Linked DNA regions of Homo sapiens: region 2 is linked to region 1. The links are contacts of gene promoters, found by promoter capture Hi-C in human tissues and cell types (Jung and others, 2019). All regions are on one chromosome and are shown on one strand. Each heading gives the region's core, a stretch centred on a gene start or on the middle of the fragment in contact. The rest is flanking DNA. Distances are from core to core; before and after follow the strand shown. Region 1 holds the start of RNF180 (ring finger protein 180). Region 2 overlaps CWC27 (CWC27 spliceosome associated cyclophilin).

Evidence for each region. The method cuts DNA at HindIII sites, captures the fragments that hold promoters and counts their contacts. A contact is called where the count stands out against the background at its distance.
Region 2: a fragment that was not itself captured here is called in contact with the fragment with the promoter of RNF180 in region 1 in 1 of the 25 tissues and cell types used here (bladder).

What each region holds. Positions count from the first base shown.
Region 1 is chr5:64,164,314-64,167,850 of GRCh38, reverse strand. It overlaps RNF180 (ring finger protein 180), which reads right to left and starts at 2,008. Exons shown (of 8, transcript NM_001113561.2): 1 at 1,898-2,008. The HindIII fragment of the contact is 11,374 bases long and covers 1-3,537 here.
Region 2 is chr5:64,797,612-64,800,824 of GRCh38, reverse strand. It overlaps CWC27 (CWC27 spliceosome associated cyclophilin), which reads right to left. Exons shown (of 14, transcript NM_005869.4): 8 at 498-577. Among named protein-coding and RNA genes, the nearest start is that of CWC27, 30 kb to the right of the region's middle. The HindIII fragment of the contact is 3,591 bases long and covers 1-3,151 here.

The sequences.
Region 1 (3,537 bases), core at 759-3,258:
TTCAGATGGCCAAATGGAGGTGGTATAAGGGAGAGAGAACTGTGTTTATTCCATGAAAGCAACAATTAAGTCTAAGCACACTGTCCCCTTGTACTATGTAGTTAGCAAAATTTAAGCGAAATTTTTAATCTTTATGCTCCTTAATGAAAAAGACATTGTAAGAGTAAAAAGCATTATCATTCAGGTAGCTATGTCATATTACAGAAATATATTAAAATGATTAATTTATTGCATTCTTGCCTGGAAGAATTCCTGCTTCATGTATGAGGTGCTTATTAAAGAGGCTGGTGTCGGTCCTCAGACACACTCAAAAAAGTGCTAATTAAGTCTATTTTATCAAGAAAGAAATCTTGTTGATTTTTTCAATATTATTTTTTGAATTTTCGAAGAAAAAATCTTCACTTTGAAAAACCAAACACACAAAAAATGAAAGAGAGGAAGAAAAATGGGGTAATAAAATACCATTGACAAAACTAAGAGCAAACCCTAGGGAAACTGGTAAATTGTTGATGGTTCCAGAGAGATAAAGTACAACATAACACGTACACAATTACGAGATAATTTTTCATTACAATAATTAAAATGACTATTCTCCTAAATTTTTGATTCTTTATGAGAAAAAACTTACTCAAATATTCCGGGAAACCTAACAGCTCGCCTCCTCGATTCTACTTATTAAATAAATATTTAGAGTTTCTGCCATTGTCACCAAAGTATCTTTGGGCTGCCAGTGGCACTACATTTATACAAGAGACGAAAGTCTGACAGATAAAAGACAACGGAATTTTACTTCTTTCTACGACTCAAATGATACCACTCATTTGAAACTGAAGTGTTTATGATCTTTCAAGTATCACTTTTAGGGGTACTATAACAGGAGTCTGAAAGGAATTGACTCTATTTTTTAAGAAAGGTTTTAACAATTAATGAGTATATAAAAATACAATGAGCATCAGACCGTCCATCTTTGAGAGCTAAATTTTGTTTGAGACTAAGAGACCAACTGGACCAAGGACAACTCTAGTCAGACAAGTTCTAATCACAGATTCCACAAGGATTGACTGCTTAGTTTTGATATAATCACTTTGCCTCTTGGGTGCCTCAGCTGTCTGGTCTATAAAATGGGATAATAGTAACCCGACCGCATAATGCTCCTTTGAAGTTAACTAATGAATGCTCTCACAGATACACTTACAACTGTTAGATGCTACGAAAATAATGAGCACTATCTCGAAAAAAAACAAGGTGGAATATATGTGTTAGTGTTCATAACAGCACTAGTAATTTCCCACCAAAGGACCATCTCCCCACCTCCGCCCGATGGATTTCAGAGCTTATGACCTCTGCCTAGCAGAAAGTCGTACACTCCGGACCCAAGGCTGCAACAAAAGCGACTGCGACGCCGATACTGAAATGGGCTAGACAAAGGAAAGTGGAACCGTGCAGAGGGAATCGGCCGTGGAAGGGGCTGTGTGGTCCCCACAAGCTCCGAAATTAAACAAGACGCAGTTCCCCACCTCAGACCTGGAGAGGGTTCAGTACTGGACCCCTGGCACCCACCCCACCTTCCCCGGCCTCCTCCGCCACACCTACAGCGCCTCGCCTCCAGGACTCAGCTTTTTCGACCCTGTGTAATTCCAACCTCCAGGTGGGCGCGCCCCGAGGCCGCTCCGAGAGCCTCAGGTGCGAAAGTTAAGCCGCGGCCGCGTCACCTGAGGCCCGCCGGGCGAGAGGCGGCCAGGCCAGCGGCAACCCTAGCCCAGCCCCTTGGCACGTCCCCGCCTGGGCCAACGTGGGGGCCCGGGCCACCGCGGCTGGGTAGGGCCCGGCCGAGGCCAGGTCCCTCCGAGAGGCGCCGCCGCCGCGCCCCGCCCGACTCCGACCCGCCGGCCTTTACCTGTATCCACGTCCCGGAGCCTCCGGCTTCGCGCCCCGTCCCGGCGCTCCCGGCCGCCAGCAGCCAGGCTCTGAGGACTCGCTGCGGCTCCGGCGGCGGCGATGCCGGTTCGGCGAGACGGGAAGCGACAGGAGCCAAACCCCGCGGAAAGCGCTCGAGCTGTGCCTGCAGCCCCGACCCCGCGGCCTCGGACGTGGCGCCCCGGCGCTCGCCCGCCACAGCCAGCGGCCCTGCTCGCCCCACGTCTGCGGGTTCCCACCCGAGCCGCGCGTGGGCGGCGCCGGGCTTTGACCCCGCGCAGGCAGACAAGCGCCGCGGGCCAGACGGAACCGTGGGAAAGTTTTTCTCCCTTGTCATCCCCTTACCAGAGCCACAGAAATTATCCCTGTGGTCTCCCTTGTCCTCACTCGGCCTTTTCTGGAGTTAAGAGATCCAAGCCAACTACTGGGTCTGTTCCCTGCTAAAATCTTAGGCCGGCGTCCCATCCACCCATCCCCATGCCTAGGACTTTTAAGCTGGCAACGCTACCTGGGTTTAGTTTTCCCTTCGTATATCACTATCTTCGTTGCTTACCTTCTTGTGCCTAAAGTTCCACCGATGTGCAAGGAGATTAACCACTAAAGTGCACCTGACACTACTCTTGACAAATTGCAGTTGGGAGGTGAGTTGATGACTGGCGGTAAATCAAAAGTGCTTATTTAGGGAGTGAGGGGGCCGCGTGCAGTAAATGTTGACTTGCAGGTGCCTCATAGATGATCAAACGACTATAAATAAGATTCGGAATATAAAAAGCAAGTTTTATTAGTTGGCTTGAGGAGAGGGAAGGGAGCTAGGAGGGAACCTCAAAAAAAATATACAGCTTTGTTTCTCTGCTAGATACAGAAATTTTTATTTGCCTGAAGTGGCTTACTTGGAAACTTGTCCTAAGATTAGGGCTGTATGCAGTGACTTCCCATCTGGAAATACAAGGAAATAAAGAACAAAATGAAAGACATCACGAGAAAACTACAGACCAATATACCTTATGCATAGTAACATAAAAATCCTCAACAAAATACTAGCAAGCCAAACCCAGCAACATTTTAAAAAATTATACAACATGACCAAGTAGGATTTATCTCAGGAATGCAAGTTTGGTGTGACATACAAAATTAATGTAACACACTACTTTAAATAGACTAAATGTAAAAACCACATGATCATCTCAAAAGATGAAGGAAAAGCAATTGACAAAATCTAACACCCTTTCTTGATATAAACACTTCAACTAGGAATAAAAGGAAACTTCTTCAACCTAATAAAGAGCCTCTGAAAAATCCATAATTAACATCATACTTAATCTTGAAAGAATGAACATTTTCACCTAAAATCAGGAATAAGACAAGGATGTCAATTGTTGCTACTTCTATTCAACATTATAGTGGAGGCACTAGCCAGGGCAGTTAGGCAAGGAAAGGTGGAATATCTAACAGCTAGTAGAACAAAGAGAAGAAAGATAATTACCAAAGAAAACGAGGACAACAGTTCTCAGAGCTAAAGGACAGAAGCACATGAGCTCTCAGTTTAATGGATAAAAATTTTCTATAACCAAGTTGTGAAATTTCAAACCACATGAGTCAGAGAGATCTTAACTTTCATGG
Region 2 (3,213 bases), core at 107-2,606, 630 kb before region 1:
AGACGTTTTCCCTTCTCAAAGAGAAGCAACAAAGGTAGCAAGACAACTTTCTGTTAACTCCTCAAAGTATGTGAGAATTTATAGTCAGTGGACTGGCCCCCAAACTGGTAACTTCTTCACAAAAACCTTTAACTGTAATTTGTTCATTCATGATACAATTAAGGCAAAAATGCTTCAAGGAAAAGGTAGCAAAACAACCTTGAATTAAGCATTACACTGTTAAAGCAAACAGTTTCTAGTCCTAACATGTAATGGTAAAACAATTTTAAATGTAATTCATTCAACAGAGGTAGAGAGCAAGTGCGAAAGTGACTAGAGCGTTTGTTTCTCTCTATCAAGCTTGAAGTTCTCTATCTCTGTTATCAAAATGCTTTATTTTTTTGGCTGGCTTAAAAATTTTTGACTTATGAGGACTGACTGTTTACTCACAGAAGAAGCAAGAAAATTATCTGAGCCAGAAAATTAAGAACTTAGGATCATACCAACAATGGACTAACCTTTCTACAACTGGAACAGAACTGAGATGTGGATCATCCTTAAGCAAGTCATGACTACTTTTGCTTTTGCCCTTCATGCTCTGCAAAGAATGTACAATATAATCATGAGGGGGGAAATAAACAGTATTCCTAAATAACAAGTTAACAAATTTACATAAAACCTAGCAATGATATAATATGGTTAGCAAAAGATGTATTCCTGAAAAGTTTAATACAAACTAAAGTTTTATAAGTAAGAATCTTACTCTTCTATTGACTGAAAATAGTATTTTAGAAACACCTTTTCTTTCAAAAAATGATATATCATTTAAAAGAAGTCTGTTGAATTACCAACTTGAAGCACTAAATTCTCATAATAATTTGCATACTATGAAACTAGTTAATTTTTATGACCCCTATAACTTAGAAGCTACATCACAAGAGTATTGAAATAAATGCATGCTATTATTCTTCAAATATGCCACCTATACTGCACAGAATCACTTTTTAAAATGTTACTCAAGCAAAAGATAAGTGCATCCCCGAGGAACTACTTACCAACAACAACAAAAAAAGATATAGAAGAGCCTCTTGAGCATGAGAATATTTATCAGTGACCAAATATTTATTAAATGCTTTAATTTCAAAGTTCATGTTTTCAAAAAATGTACATTTTAGAAGGGAAACAAGATATAAAAAGGTTTAAGAAGTAGCATTATAAAACAACAACTACTGCTGCTATTAAGTATATATATATATATTTTGAGATGGAGTCTCACTCTGTCACCAGGCTGGAGTGCAGTGGTGTGATCTCAGCTCACTGCAATCTCCGCTTCCGGGGTTCAAGCGATCCTCCTGCCTCAGCCTCCCAAGTAGCTGGGATTACAGGTATGCGCCACCACGCCCAGCTAATATTTGTATTTTTAGTAGAGACAGGGTTTCACCATGTTGGCCAGGATGGTCTTGATCTCCTGACCTCATGATCTGCCCGCCTCAGCCTCCCAAAGTGCTGGGATTACAGGCATGAGCCACTGTGCCTGGCCAAGTATTAAGTATATTCTTTGTGCTAGGCACTGTGCTTCAAATAGCATTGCTAACCCTCTCTTCTTCTCTTCCCAAATTAAAGTATATGAGGTGGGAATTATTAGCCCCATTTTACAGATGGTTAAAGAGATTAAGTAATTTACTAAAGGTCACAAAACTAGTCAGTGGTAGAGGATCTAGGGTTTAAATCCAGGTCTGTCTGACAATAGTACCCATATATCGAAAATCTAAATGTATCCATTTTTCTTTTCCTCTAGGCCCCTATGGGCCCAGAATACCGGCCTGGTTTCAGAGCTGCAATCTCCTATTCTACAGATTTCCCTACTGCAGGGTGGGACACCTCAAACTTACACCCTGTATCTTGAGGGGGGAAGATGCTCACCACCCCAACTCCCAACTAATCATATAAAAATGAATAGTTAAGAGATTAGAGTTGACAGAAAGAATAATTTCTGCTTTGAAAAATTTTGAAGAAAATTTTATGTGGGAAAATTTATTACAAAGTATGTTAACTAAAATGTTTAAATGACATTTAAACAGACACAGACACAGAGAGATGAAAACACTTCTTTTCCTTAAGCTCCCTTCACCACTTTTAATTTGAAAAACAGGCTCTTAAATAGATTTTAATTTCTGTATTAATATGGAGCTCTCTATAGAGTTAATCAATTAAAACATGCTTATAGTGCAATTTCATAATACAAAATTTTCTCCAACAGTTAATCTAAATATGCTATTATTTGTAGTTTTAAAAAGTCATAGAATCTGAATTATGCAATTAATCTATATATCTAATTTCATAAACTTACTTAAACTAAGGAGTGATGAAAAAGCAAAATGTCATCTAATTACTGGATAATGTTTGTCTGACTATGAAAAACGGGGGAAAATATTCACAAAACAGAAGGTGGTATAGTAGAAAGAAGACAGGACAAGAAGAAAGATGGTGGTTGGACCAAATGAGTTTCAAAATGTAGTATTCCACAATTCCATGGGGTTTAGTCTAAAACATGTACCATTTGTTGAAACACAGTGATCTCATGAGACCTCAGAAACATTGCCTACAAAATGGGAATAATCATCATAGCAGCCTTGCCTATTTCACATAAGAGAATTAAATGAGATTATCTGCAAAAGTGTACAGTGAACATCAAATAACTTAAACAAGAATAAAAGCCTGAACATCTTTTGTTCATGCTTTCCTTCCTTAAAATTCCTTCCTCCTGCATCTCTGGCCGTCAGATTATTTTCATCTACCTTCAGAAATAGTCCTATATTAATTCTCCCCACCTGGTTCCCTTATAAAGTCACAATCATAAACATCACAGTCAGAATTGGCCCCAGATCCTCTGTTCTAGCCTTTTGGTCCACTGATCAGAAAATGACTTACACTAATAAATAGCAAAAGCAAGATTAGAATTCAGATCTCTAAGTAAGCTCTTGGTCCATTAATGAGCTATACTATTTCACTTCCTTGTGAATGTTAGTTTACAATTGTTAATTTCATTGTTAATATATTTTTAAAATGGGTTCTTGTATTGTATTCTTGAAAACCACTAAGAGCGATTTTAAGTTTTCTCCTCACAAGAAATGATAAGCATGTGAGGTAATTCATATGTTAATTAGCTCCATTTAGCTAATTTAAAAAGTAATTAATTTTTTTAAAAAGGTTCTTGTTTATCTTCCAAAACTT